5 separate regions of the Homo sapiens genome follow, and regions 1, 3, 4 and 5 are each linked to region 2. The links are contacts of gene promoters, found by promoter capture Hi-C in blood cells and fetal thymus (Javierre and others, 2016). All regions are on one chromosome and are shown on one strand. The core of a region is centred on a gene start or on the middle of the fragment in contact, and the rest is flanking DNA. Distances in the headings are between cores, read along the strand shown. Region 1 overlaps SLC30A7 (solute carrier family 30 member 7). Region 2 holds the start of AGL (amylo-alpha-1,6-glucosidase and 4-alpha-glucanotransferase). Region 3 overlaps EXTL2 (exostosin like glycosyltransferase 2). Region 4 has its middle 33 kb from the start of EXTL2. Region 5 has its middle 11 kb from the start of LINC01307.

Region 1 (2,700 bases), core at 37-2,536, 1.1 Mb after region 2:
GTATCAGTTTTATTATTCTGCTTTATCATTTATTCACCAATTCTCATTCTGCTTTGAGTTAGATGTCAGATGAGATGGTTAAAGTACTATCTGCACTTAAACTTTCTAATATATCTATATTTCAGTGGAATAAATAAGGTTCATGATAAAAGTTTAAGACATTTTCTAAAATCTTTTGTAATGATTTGGCAGAGGTTTATAAATTATTGTGCTTTTTCTTGTTGGTAAATGATGTGCTTTGACTTAGTTTCTAATTATATAATTATTCCAAATTATGAGAAAAATTTAAAACCATGCTTTTTCTGTATGTGTGAAGAATGTTTTTGACTTTTAGTTTGTAGCACTTCCAACTGATGAAAACTCTAGCATCTAGCCAAATATTAAGAGGTATGGGTTGTGCTTGGGAACACCAGGTATTATAAGCATTAATAATAGTTAATAATTAATAATGTGATTTATTAATAATTAGCAATAGGAATATTAATGTGGTTTTAATGTGACAAGCATTGTGGTAAATGTTTCATATATATTAACTCAATTATTATAACAATTATGACACTTTTATACTATACTCTATTGAAGTGATGGCTAAATTGAGGCACAAAGAAGTTAAGTAACTTACTGGTCACGGAACTAGTAAATTTGGAGCTGGGATTTGAACCCAGGTACTCTGACTTCAGAAGCTTGTTTTTAAAGACTGAACTGATGATTGCTTTCAGAACATTTTTATTGACTTCTCTTCAAGTTCACGGATTTCTTTCCTCAGCTGTGTCCAGTCTGTGATAAGCCAATTGGAAGAATTCTTTATCGCTGATAACTTGTTTTTTGTTTCTAGTATTTCCATTTGATTGTTTTTTATATTTCCCACTTCTCTACCAAATTCCCCACTGGTTCATATTTTTTTGTCCACTTTTTCCATAGATCCTTTAACATATTAATTAGAGTTTATGATAGCTCCAGTATCTGGGTCAATATCTTGGTCTGGTTCTGTTAACTGCTTTCTCCACAGTGACTTCTTTTTTTTTTTGGCTCTTTGTGTATTTTGAAATTTTTTTTATCAAATATTGGACATTATGAGTAAAAAACAGTAGATACTGAGGTAATAGTATTTATGATCGGAAATAGGTATGCCTTGTCTGTCAGACCACTAGTTGGTTGGACTTTGTGCTTTTAGTAATCTCTGTATGGTGCCTGTGCCACAGAAGCTCTTTTCTTCATGCGCTTACTCCTGCCCAAGCTATAGACTGCTGTTGCTTGTTACTCAGTACCCAGTTTATGGTGAAGGCAGAGGGGTATTTGTTAACTTTAACCCAAAGCCTCTGTCTTTGGTAGATTCTGTAAGCCTCAACCTCAGGGGTATGATTTTGTCAACATTTTTACTCCTTCTCCTGTAATAGCCAAACTCTACTGTGTGTATGTTTATGGTCCTGGATGGAGACAACTTTCCTTCTCCATTCTCAGTGGTAGCAGAACGTCTGCTTTGTGTTGGTAGAGGATTTCCTTCCCTTCTTTTGGTGGCTTTTCTTAGTGGGTGCTTTAGTATGTATAATATTAATCTTTAAATTATCACAAATAATATGTCATTTCATGTATCTGATAAGAACCTTACAATAATACACTTTGATTTTCTTATTCCATTCTGTGTGCTATTATTGTCATACCTTAGGTTGTTGACAGTATTTTTTTTCTCTTTCAATACTTTAAAGGTGTTGCTCCATTGCATTCTGGCTTGAATAGTTTCTGAAGAAAAACATGCTATAAATTTTATCTTTATTTTTTTAATTTAATTTTTCTCTTTCTTCCCCTCTGGTTTTCAAAGATTTTTTTATTTCTCTTTGATGTTTAGTGGTTTGTGACGTGTGGAGGGTTTTTTCCTCGCTTGGGTTCATTAAGCTTCTTGGATCTGTGATTTATTTTCTTTTATGAATTTCAGAAAACTCTGAAACATTTTCTCTTTAAATACTTTTCCTATCCCTTTCTTTTTTTCTTTTCTGTTCCTGAGACTCTAAATACATGTATTTTAGTATGTTTGATACGTCCAGACAGGTTTGGGATGCTCTGCTTTTTTTGTTTGTCTGTTTGTTTCCACTCTCTTTTCTCTTTGTGTTGCACTTTGTTTAACTTCTTTTGACCTAACTGATTCTTTCTCTCTGTGTCCAGTCTGCTCAGAAGCCCATGACTGTTATTCCTCCATATTGTAATTTTTAAAAAATTATCATTTCCATTATATTCTTTTATAGTTTTTATCTGCAGAAATTATTCATTTGTTAATGAATTTTCTCTGACTTTATACCACATCCTTTGACATATTAATTGTATTTGTTGTTAAAGTCCTATCTAATAGTTCCAACATTGGGGCCATTTCTGGTTCTGTTGACTGTTGTAGCTCTTAACAATGAGTCTCTCTTTTTTTCTTTCTTGATTTTGTCATTGAGTGCTGGACATTCTGTTTAAAAGAATAATAGAGACTGTATATGTCCAGAAATGGGCACACCTATTTTTCTGTTTGGCCGTTAGTATGGGACTTTCGAAACTATTTGCTCAGTAGTCAAACTGGGGTTGAGCTGGGTTTTGTGTTTTGTTATTGCTGATTTCCACAAATCACAGTCTTTGAATTTTTCAGTGGTTCCTACTACTTTGTGATTAGTATTGGATTTGGAGTACTGCAGGATTTTTTCAGGGTTCTTGCTCCACTCTCAG
Region 2 (2,700 bases), core at 131-2,630:
CTATTATATATAGGATATAACATATCCTTCTTATTATATAGGATATATTATATCCTGTATAATTTATTTAATTTATCTGTCTCCCACCAATAAAATGTAGGAGTTCCTTGAGGGCAGTGACTGTTTTATTGCTGCATTCCCAGCACCTTATGTGCCTGGCAAATAGTAGGGGCCAGAAAATGAGCTGTGGGTTCCCAAAGTCAGTTACGGACCATTTGCAACTAGCCATTCTCAGAAATCTACAGAAATAAACAAATACTTCAGTATGGGGTTTTTTTTTTTAACTTATATCCTCTTTGGACCTACAGTCATTCCACAATAAAGAATGCAAGAATCTTCTCCACACGCCACAAGTCTTAGTTAACCAAATCTTCTGTCCATTTTCTCATAACCATTAGGAGCCCTCCAAAAGCCCTGGAAGATGGGTTTTCCTTTACCCTCAGGCATTAAATCTCCTTAAGCATCTGCAAAAAGTTCTGAGTTACTGGCCTAACATAAGTGCAGCTTAATCTCAGACGATCTCCGGGTCTATCTAGTGTACATGAGGTACACCCGGACACCGTTAAGTATCAGTGGTGTTTGCACTCTCGATGGTTTGCAGACTGGCCACACCTTACCTACTGGGTCTGCATTCAGGAACATGTGTCCTGTCTGTTAGCACTAGAAGTGATGGACACGTGTTGGCTGGAATGTCAAGGCTGTAGCCAGGCCCCTTATTTTAGACACTTAGAAATCAGGACTCTGAGAACTTAGGCCAAGTAAAAATTATCAAAACAAAGAAACAAAACACGTGGTGGCACAAAAGACACCAGAAGCCAGGTCGTTTGCCCCTCACCATTCAGCCCTTCCCAGCAAAAGATCCTACTGTGCAGCTCAACCTAGCTCGCAGCCGGTACCGCGGGATTTTAATGTGCAACTGTGAGCTCGCAGGCTGTTAAAGGAAGGCCGCGCCTTGGCCGGTGCACCTTCCCCAGGGCAAGGAGAAAGCGCCGCTCCCGGCCTCAGCCGCAGCAGGCTCCAGGTCCCCCGGCCCGGAGCCGACTGAGACGGTGCGGTGCCCACGCTCTCGCGAGACTAGCGGTCGGGGCGGGCGGGTCGAGCCTCCCGGAAGTGGGCCAGAGGTACGGTCCGCTCCCACCTGGGGCGAGTGCGCGCACGGCCAGGTTGGGTACCGGGTGCGCCCAGGAACCCGCGCGAGGCGAAGTCGCTGAGACTCTGCCTGCTTCTCACCCAGCTGCCTCGGCGCTGCCCCGGTCGCTCGCCGCCCCTCCCTTTGCCCTTCACGGCGCCCGGCCCTCCTTGGGCTGCGGCTTCTGTGCGAGGCTGGGCAGCCAGCCCTTCCCCTTCTGTTTCTCCCCGTCCCCTCCCCCCGACCGTAGCACCAGAGTCGCGGGTCCTGCAGTGCCCCAGAAGCCGCACGTATAACTCCCTCGGCGTAAGTGCTAGGAATGCCGCTGGCCTCGCGGGGAAACGCATTCTTTCTATCTATAGCTCGCTCTGTACATCTTCTGTCTACGGCAGCTATTCCAGAGGCAACAACTGCTTCCCTCTGTTCTCATCTCCCCATTGGTGGCTGGCGACCCGAATTTGGGAATGGGGAGATTGCCCACCTGTTATCTTTGAGCAGACTAATCTCTTGTAAGCAGAAGTGCCATTCGGAGTCTCCAGAGCCCTGTGGCTTGGGGCTGGGAATGTCCCCCTGACTTCAGGCTTTCCTAAGTGTATTGCTTTTCTCTGAGAATGGTCTAGGTTTTTAATTTTTTAATTGTAAGAATCTGTAATACAGCATTTTTATTTCGGTCTTATTCGTTGTGCTCAAAGGCAGGAAACAACTATTAATTTGCCTTCTCGAATCTTAATAGTTATAAGATTCATTCTCTTTCATTGCTCTGCTAGGCATAAAACACACTTCGAACATGTAAGTGCCGCTGTCAGCTCTGGAGAGTTTAAGGCAATAGTTATTTTCGATATTTTAACTCCTTTTTGTTTCATAGGGGTAACTCATTCGACTGTGGAGTTCTTTTAATTCTTATGAAAGATTTCAAATCCTCTAGAAGCCAAAATGGGACACAGTAAACAGATTCGAATTTTACTTCTGAACGAAATGGAGAAACTGGAAAAGACCCTCTTCAGACTTGAACAAGGTCAGTAGCAAGTTGTTTTGATTTGCTCATTTGCGTCTTTTAAACTTTTAATTCATTGGCAGTCCTGTTAAATGTTTTAAAGCTCTAAGATAAATATTATTTCCAAGGGTCTAAAACTTGATTTGTGCAAAGATGGTGCTGTGTTCTCCATATATCACTAATTAATGTTGATTTGAATTAAAAATATTTTATATCCCTCGTGTTAGGATAAGGATAAAATAGTTCTCTTTTCTCTGCGTACTAATTCCCACTTAAGATTGAAGTTAAATATATGATCAGAAGATTGCCCATATTATTTCTAATAACATTTACTATTAAAACTTGGTAAATTACTTCATATGTAATTTTGCTTTGGGTATGCATGTAGTTTTGCCTTTGTATAACTGTCTCTTTTCCTTTGTTGAACCTTTGAATTGACAAAATAGATTGCAGCAAAAAGTATAGTAAACTATTGTTTATGTATATCAAAAACTTCTCAAATGTGGAGTAGGTAAAAGCTGAAAATATTTTCTTAGCAAATAAAAAGTGCAATAACTCATCTGGTTATGTTGAACTA
Region 3 (2,700 bases), core at 47-2,546, 1.0 Mb after region 2:
AGCACTTACGGGGGCAAAAGCAGGATTCTGCCTGAGCCCCAGAACTTGAGACCAGCCTGGGCAATGTCATGAGACCCCATTCCTACAAATAAATTAAAAAATCAGCCATCTGTAGTGGTGCATGCCTATAGTCCCAGCTACTTAGGAGGCTGAGGCAGGAGGATAGCTGGAGCCAAGACGTTGAGGCTGCTGCAGTGAGCTGTGATTGCATCACTGCACTCCTGCCTGGGGAACAGAGTGAGACTCTCATCTCATAAAAAAACAAAAAACAAAAAACACAACAAACCAACTAAAAAATACTGCCCCAATAATTACATAATTATATGACTTATTGCACAAACACAGAAACTCAGAGAGCTGAAAGAGACTTCAGGGTCCTCCTTAGCCAGTTTCCTTGTTTCACAGATAAACAACTCAAGGTCCGGGGATAAGGAACTTGCCTAAGGTCATGCAGCTGCATGTGGCTAATCAGCAGCAGAACCAAGAGAAGACTCTAAACCTTCTGATGGCACAGTCCACAACTCTTTCCACTATGCTAGGGTAAATTCTGCAAGGATGTGTCAAAAAATTAATAAGGAAGACTGTCACTAACCTGCAAGATAATATAAAAAATTATACTTGTTATGTTGGAGTTTTTTAGTATCTTTAAGGAGAGATTACATACAATAAAATTTACCCATTTAAAGTATACAGTTCAGTAGCTTTTAATATAATCACAGAGTTTTGCAACCATCACCACAATTTAATTTTAAAACATTTTCAACACCTCAGAAAGAAACCCCAGACCCATTAGCAGCCAATCCCTATTTTCACTTCCCTTAACCCCTGACCTCCATCCCAGCTCCAGGAAACCACTAATTTATTTTCTGTCTCAGTGGATTTGCCTATTCTGGATATTTCATATGAATGGAATCATACAATATATGACCATTGTATCTGGCTTTTTTCACTTAGCATAATGTTTTTGAGGTTCATCCATGCTGTATATATCATGAGGTATATATCAGTACCTCATTTTTTTTGTTGCCAAGTAACATTCCATTCTATGGATAGACCACATTTTCTTCATTCATCAGTTAATGGACGTTTGAATTGTTTCCACATATTGGCCATTATGAATAATGCTGCTATGAACATTCATGTACAAGTTTTTATGTGAACCTATGGTTTCAGTCCTCTTAGGTGCTTACCTAAGAGTAGAATTGCTGGGTCATTATGTCAGTAATATTTAAATATCTGAGAACTGAAGTAGCTTTTCAAAGAGCATTATTTGAAATTACAAGTAATTTTCTTAAATGTGGACATAGAATAAGAAAGTAAATAATATATAGTATATTAAATAACAGTACAAATTCTGTCATGGATGTCTTTAAATGGACCAGGCAATTTGAATTTCCAAAGATCTGCTATAGAGTTACTTACTACATAATCTATCAAAGTTCCCTAGAAGAAACACCGTTGAAGGATTCTTTCCTCAAGGCTAGTTCCTTCAGACTGGAAAGCAATAATTATCCAGAGAGAAGCTGAAAACAAACATGCCAGTGCACAGCATGAACAAAGATTATGTTCTCTGACTCATAAGGTAGAAAAGCAATGAGCAACGTGGTGTTGTACAATGAGAAGCTGTCATTTTTATTTTGCTGCCACAGATGGCAGCAGAACGATAACTATTCTGCCATTTCACTACGAGATTTGCCTCATACTGTCCAGATTGTTTCTCCTCTGGCTCATCTTCTAGAATATTTACTTGCCTATAAACTGATGAATATAGAATGTAGATGCTCAGAAAAGGGGCCTCAGCTGCCAAGAGATAAAATCATTCCAAGGTTGAATACAGAGGCCAATGCAGAACCTGAGCTGATGCACGTAAGAAGATGCAAAAAGAAAATTGGAAGAGACGGCTCTACAACCAATGACCAGTTTCTGACCAGGTTTATGGCATGCAGATAACCAACACTGTTTAAACTAAGGCAAAGGCGCATGTGGTGCCAAATTCCAAAAAGACATTTCCCCTCAATGGTACCTACATACAGTGAGCCGATCCACGACTCCATGTATTGGTACATGCTATTTTCTCTACTTCCAAAACCCTTCTATCTGACAAACTCTTACTCCCTGCCCCTCAAATCTCTTTCAAATATCACATCTCCTATAAATGTTTCCCTCACCACTCTCCACCCTGAGTATTCCAGTGAACTCTGATTACTGTGTTTCTAGTCCTTGTTTTCAGGTATTTCAACTATCGACTGTTCTTTTGCTGTTTTTTTCAGTCTTAACGTATCTTGAGGGAAGTTTCTGTCCTTCTTTATAATCCAGAACAGTGTCTGGCCCATTTTTTGACTCAGTGCTCACATCACTATAGTTGAATTAAATGAGGGAATTTATGTCTAAATTGTCCTAAATGTCAATGAATGCCTGAAACATTAACAGAATAAATGCAGATTAAATGTAAATTAAGGCCCAATTAAGACTAGACAGTACCAAAGCAACTGTTCCCTACATAGAAGAGCTGGGTCATCACCCATCTGGTGACTAGAAGAGCATGTCATGAAATGTGACCTCAAACACAGACCACACAGGCCCCCTTTCTACATGCAGTTCTGTGGCCAAGCCACTTGATAAACAAAAGATGTCTCAGATCTCTGATTTTTTTTCACATCTTTTCAAAGATATTCTGCATTAAAATATATTTGAACATCC
Region 4 (2,700 bases), core at 33-2,532, 1.0 Mb after region 2:
AGCCTCAAGGAGAATCTTGCAAGAGAAGAATCATAAAGCAGTAAATTGTAGCAATTAATTACATGCATTTTTAATGAAACTTAGGTTTTTTTTCTTTTTTTAGCACTATCTTCATTTATTCCCACCACTACTCCTAGAGTTACTAGTATCTTTGGCTTTCTGAAGACTAGGGTAATTACAAAGCCCCGGTCAGGGCAGTGGTTTTTATTAATGGTAGCCTGAGTAGGATATATTATTAATAGTTAAGAATATAAGCTTTATAACTGACTGACCCAGGTTTGAATCCTGACCTTTTTACTTTGTGGCCTTGAACAAATTATTTAACCTCTCTAATTCTTAGTTTTTTAAGTCAGTTAAATAAGGTAATAATACCTATTTCATAAGATTTGTTTGAGAATATTAAATAAGAACATTGCATAAAGCATGATGCATGCTACATTGTAAATACTCAACATGGTAGATGTTAATATTACTATTATTATGATATTTTATTCATTCAATAAAGGTTGTTGATAAATTATGAATCCAGAAATTGTGCTGACTGGACTCACTTTAAATTTGTAACTACAAATCTCAAATGACTCAAAATAGTCCCAGATTATTCTATCTCATTGCCCTGGTAACTTCATTTTCCTCCTTTCCAAGAGAGCTATTTCACAATGTTCTCTTCTCTCAAATCCCCATACCTCCCACATACACACACACTCACACTCAACTGATACTCATACTCAGACTTTCGTCATAGACAATAAATGTCAACATGCAAAATGCCCTCTTTCTCATCACAAAATCCACTTGCCTTCCTACATCCTTGTTTATGAACTTTGTCTTCCCTCCTTTTTCAGGAAAACAGAGTTCCTGCCCCTTTGGCCACCCTCCCCTGCACCTGGAACATATCCTCTCGGGCCTTCCCAGGCACCGCACTTCTGTACTCATGTACGGGCTTCTTCTGTTCACTAGAACTTCAATTCTGGAGTGTCCCAGGCTCTGCCCAGCCCTCTCTCCTTCTCTATTTATGCTATCCCCCTAAATGATTCGACCAACTCTGAGGGCTCTTAATATCATCTATGCTTTAATGATTGATCTCCAGTCTTCCTCATTTCAGTAAATATTACCAACATCTACCCCATGTCTTCAGCGAAAAACCCAGGAGCCCACATCTAATCTGTTCAACAAGTCTTGTATGTCTTACTGGCTAACTCCAAACATACCTTAAGTCTAACTACTTCTGACAAACTTCATTACTACCACCATGGTCCCAACTACCATTATTTCTCTCTAGATCAGGGTTTCTCAGTCTTGGCATTATTGACATTTTGACCAAGTGATTCTTTGTTCTGAGGGCTGTCCTGTGCACTGTAGGCTGTTCAGCAGCAGCCCTTCTCTCTACCCACCAGATGCTAGTCACATTCCCACTACACAGTTATGAACACCAAAAATCTCTCCAGACGTGGCCAAATGTCCCTTATGGGGCTTGGGGGGGTCGAAATCACTCCCAGTTGAGAACCACTTCTCTGAATTAGTGCCAGCAATCTCTTAATTTGTCCCCCTGTCCCACTCTTGCCCTTCTAAAATCTACATCCTATACAGCATCCAGAGTGATCTTATTAAGCATATGAATCGTCATATCCCATCCCCGGTGAAAACATTTCAGAGGCTTCCTTTGTACTTAGTCCACAGCTCAAGATTCTGGCATTATTTCCTTCTACTCTCACCTTCAGTTACTGCTCTGCAGTCCTCTGGCATTCTTGTCATCCCCCAAACTTGCCAAGTTTATTCCTATATTGGGGCCTTTGCCCCTGATGTTCTCTCTGCCTGAAATTCTCTTCCCACAGAGCATGCCTTAACAACTCATCATTCAAACCACACCTCACATCCTCCTCCAGCTTTTCCTGAACCACCAGTGAAAGAAGTCTCCTATAGCTACTCTCCATCACATTACTCTATTTTCTTTATCGGGGCCAGAGATTATATCACGTATTTTCACCAACTTATTGTCCTCCTGTGAAAATATTTACTCCATGAGAGGAGGGGCTTTATTTGGACTTGTTTGCCTTTTGCCACTTTAACATTAATTTCCTGAAAAGTGCCTGACCAAAACAAGGATCTGGAAAATATGAACCAATATATTTTTGTCTGATTAATTAGCTGATTAAACACCTATGTGATTCAGCTTTGGGGTTTGGGGGCTGTGGCTAGAAAAATAAATAATAAGACACGGCTCCTGCCCTCAAGGAGTTAGATCCAATGGAGGTTTTGGAGAAGTAAAAAGGAAATTACAATATAGAATACGAAGTGCTACAATAGAGGGAAGCTTAACTCAGATCTAGGGCTTCAGAGACTTCCTAGGGAGGGTGACATGAGCAAATGCATCCAGAGGGGTGAGTGAGAGTTAGCTGGGTTAGTGGGTGCTAGAGTCTGAATTGTGTCCCCTCCCAAGTTCATATGTTGAAGCTCTAACTCCCAGTACCTCAGAATATTACTGTATTTGGAGATGGGGCCTTTAAAGAGGTAATTAACTTAAAATGAGGCTGTTAGGTTGAGCTCTAATCTAATCTGACTGATGTCTTTATTATAAGAAGAAGAAATGTGGATACTCAGAGAGACATCAGGGTTGTACACACAAAGGGAAGACCATGTAAGGCACAACAAGAAGGCAGCCATCTATAAGCCAAGGGGAGAGGACTGGAACGGATCTTC
Region 5 (2,700 bases), core at 193-2,692, 1.5 Mb after region 2:
TCTCACATGGCAACACCTTTTCAACACCTTTTCTGGGTAGGGACCTTCCCCCTCACTAACCACCCAGAGGTTAGACTCCTCTTGGGAGTCAGAAGATTGTGCTGCTTGCTCAAGATCCAGATGGCTTGCACTGTGCAGCTCACAGTAGATCTCTGTCATGCCTTCCAGCTGTCAAAATCCCAGTGGGATACTCTGGCTGGTCCACTTCCAGCTTCTTTCCCTGTCTGACCCCCTTTATAGGCTATATGCCTGGGATCTCCTTGCTCATGTCAAAGTGGGGAAGACGTGGCTTCTGTGGACTTGATGGTCCTACTGAGAAAAGCCAGATGAAACTTCGCTTGAAAGACTAGGGATAAGAAAGCCTACTTGGCATGACAGCATCCAAAATCCATTTGTTGGTCACAAGTTCTGAGATGGTTAATTGTATGTGTCAACTTGACTGGGCTGAGGGATGGCTGGGTAAAGCTGATAAACATAGTTTCCGCTGCTCCACCTGCAACTCTGAGTATTGCCTTCTCTTTAACTGCCACTTTGATACCGCAGCCTTTTGAAGTCCTTTTTCCTATATGTATTTGTAATTTATTTCTGCAACAGTCAATGAGGGTGCAATTACCATTTGAATCAGAAGACCAAGTAAAGAAGGTCCATACTTACCAATGTAGGTGGGAATCATCCAATAATCTGTTCAGTACCTGAGTAGAACAAAGGTAGGGGAAGGAGTTTGCCACCTTTTGCTTCCTGCCTGGTTGCTTGAGCAAGGACGTTGGTCTTTCCCTGCCCTTGTATATATCCTATTGGTTCTATTCCTCTGGAGAACCCTGATTAAATACAAGATTCTTGGGCTCGGTCATTTGAATGTTTCCAGTGGTTTCACCCAGATTCCTTTTAGCATCTATTTAAGTCATTGTGTTTCTAGTGTCCCATGCCCTGTGGTGAAAACTTCTGGGTTCGGGGGGTTGGGTTGGCTTAGGGCTAGGACTGGGCCAGAAATTCAGGGACACGCTACTTGGCTGCTTCCTCCAGCAGCCTGGGCAAGGCCCCTGAGCCTCCTCCTGAACCAATTTTTCAGCCTGACCTGAAATTCTTGTCCAGAACATTAGGACAGTGGGATCTTTAAGCTGGGAGCTTTGATGTTACTTCATGGAGTTCGCCTGTGATGGTTTCCCTTTCACTTTGTAGTAACTCTAAGAGTAGGTTCTAGGAACTAGGTTCTTGCCCGATTCTTTGTGTCTAAGCTCTGCTTATACTGCTGTTCTGGTAACTGAGTCCTAGTCTTGTTACCTACAGGGCCTGAGCTCCTGAACCCTTTCCCTGTACAGGGATCATGGCTCACTGTAGCTTCAAACTCCTGGGCTCAAGGGATCCTCCTGCCTTAGCCTCCCAAAATGCTGGGATTACAGGCATGAGCCACAGCACCTGCCCTCACCTTCTGGCATTTTTTGATCACCTTCTCTCGCCTTCCTTGTGCCCAGTTATCCTGGGACCAGAGTCTTGCTCCTAAATGCTGGACGCTGTGCTGGGTGTCTATTTCTGGGTTCTTCTGATACAATTACTTGGCTCTCTGAGGCAGTGCTCCAGCTGCCCGTCTACCCTGTTGGATGCAACTGGACTTCATGATGTCAGTACTCCCAGGGACTTCTTCCTAGTACTGACTTCACCCAAACAGGTCTGCGTGCCTTCAGGTCCCAGCTGTCCTAGTTTGGCTCATCACTTCAGTCTCACCCCTTCTGACTTTCACACACCTTCAGAGAGACTTCCTTGAGACAGGGTCTTGCTCTGTTGCTCAGGCTGGAGTGCAGTGGTGAGATCATAGCTCGCTGCAACCTCAAACTCCTGGGCTCAAGAGATCTTCCCACCTCAATCGCCCAATTAGCTAGGACTACAGGTATGTGCCAACATGCCCAGCTAATTTTTTATTTTTTTGGAGAGACAGGGTTTCTCTATTTTGCCCAGACTGGTCTTGAACTTCAAGGGCTCAAGTGATCCTCTTACCTTGGCCTTCCAAAATGTTGGGATTACAGGTGTGAGCCACTGCACCTTGCTTAGAGACACTTTCTTTAGAAAAGATTCAGAACACCAATTTGTCCCTAGCACCATTCAGTTTAAAACCCTTCAAAGGTTCCTCATTCCCTTTCAAAGAAAGTTCAAATTCCAAGTTATAATCATCCTTTACCAGATTGTAGTATGATACAGTTTTGTGTAGTGGCTAAGAGCACAGATCCTAGGTTCAGACTGCCTACATTCAAATTCAGGGGCTCCCTTTTAAGCCAGTTGATGTTTCTCAATCTGGGTCCTTGGACAATAGCCAAACAGCAGCAGCAAGCCTCTCCTATCTGCTTGCACACAGGTGGCACAAATTGCTATTGTTTCTATGACAACTGATGGCTTTTTTCCCCCATTTCATAAAAGCCGCCTGTATGGTGGACAGCAGCATGTGGAAGAAATGTGCTAGGCAGGGACTAGCCTGGTAGAACGCCCAAGCAACGTATACCGCGATTTTATTGTCTTCACCAGTCGTGGCTCTTTGTCTCCGAGTTCTGTCATATACTAGCTGTGTGAACTTGCTCTTGGGACTCAGTTTCCTTACCTATAAAATGGTGCTATTTACTCTTAAGGTAGTCAAGAGAATTAAATGAGTTGATATACCTAAAACACTTAGAACAGAATTTGACACATCATAGGCTGTTAGCTGTTATCATT

What was found. The method cuts DNA at HindIII sites, captures the fragments that hold promoters and counts their contacts. A CHiCAGO score of 5 or more calls a contact.
Region 1: a contact is called between a fragment that was not itself captured here and the fragment with the promoter of AGL in region 2, in 8 of 17 cell types (total CD8 T cells, naive B cells, naive CD4 T cells and 5 more). The highest score is 8.6, in total CD8 T cells.
Region 3: a fragment that was not itself captured here is called in contact with the fragment with the promoter of AGL in region 2 in 8 of 17 cell types (non-activated CD4 T cells, naive CD4 T cells, total CD8 T cells and 5 more); the score reaches 8.8 in non-activated CD4 T cells.
Region 4: a contact is called between a fragment that was not itself captured here and the fragment with the promoter of AGL in region 2, in 12 of 17 cell types (naive CD4 T cells, total CD4 T cells, naive CD8 T cells and 9 more). The highest score is 11.4, in naive CD4 T cells.
Region 5: a fragment that was not itself captured here is called in contact with the fragment with the promoter of AGL in region 2 in 2 of 17 cell types (activated CD4 T cells and naive CD8 T cells); the score reaches 7.4 in activated CD4 T cells.

The regions. Positions count from the first base shown.
Region 1 is chr1:100,903,518-100,906,217 of GRCh38, forward strand. All of the region lies in intron 2 of SLC30A7 (solute carrier family 30 member 7), which reads left to right. Among named protein-coding and RNA genes, the nearest start is that of SLC30A7, 8.8 kb to the left of the region's middle. The HindIII fragment of the contact is 1,210 bases long and covers 682-1,891 here.
Region 2 is chr1:99,848,981-99,851,680 of GRCh38, forward strand. It overlaps AGL (amylo-alpha-1,6-glucosidase and 4-alpha-glucanotransferase), which reads left to right and starts at 1,381. Exons shown (of 34, transcript NM_000642.3): 1 at 1,381-1,435; 2 at 1,995-2,144. The coding sequence starts at 2,063. RefSeq lists enhancers at 527-1,501, 702-851, 1,502-2,475 and a silencer at 1,032-1,351. The HindIII fragment of the contact is 4,640 bases long and covers 1-2,700 here.
Region 3 is chr1:100,882,572-100,885,271 of GRCh38, forward strand. All of the region lies in intron 2 of EXTL2 (exostosin like glycosyltransferase 2), which reads right to left. Among named protein-coding and RNA genes, the nearest start is that of EXTL2, 11 kb to the right of the region's middle. RefSeq lists a silencer at 1,442-1,736. The HindIII fragment of the contact is 3,425 bases long and covers 1-2,700 here.
Region 4 is chr1:100,860,894-100,863,593 of GRCh38, forward strand. No RefSeq gene overlaps it. Among named protein-coding and RNA genes, the nearest start is that of EXTL2, 33 kb to the right of the region's middle. The HindIII fragment of the contact is 2,059 bases long and covers 254-2,312 here.
Region 5 is chr1:101,311,221-101,313,920 of GRCh38, forward strand. No RefSeq gene overlaps it. Among named protein-coding and RNA genes, the nearest start is that of LINC01307, 11 kb to the right of the region's middle. RefSeq lists an enhancer at 1,058-1,137. The HindIII fragment of the contact is 3,376 bases long and covers 1-2,700 here.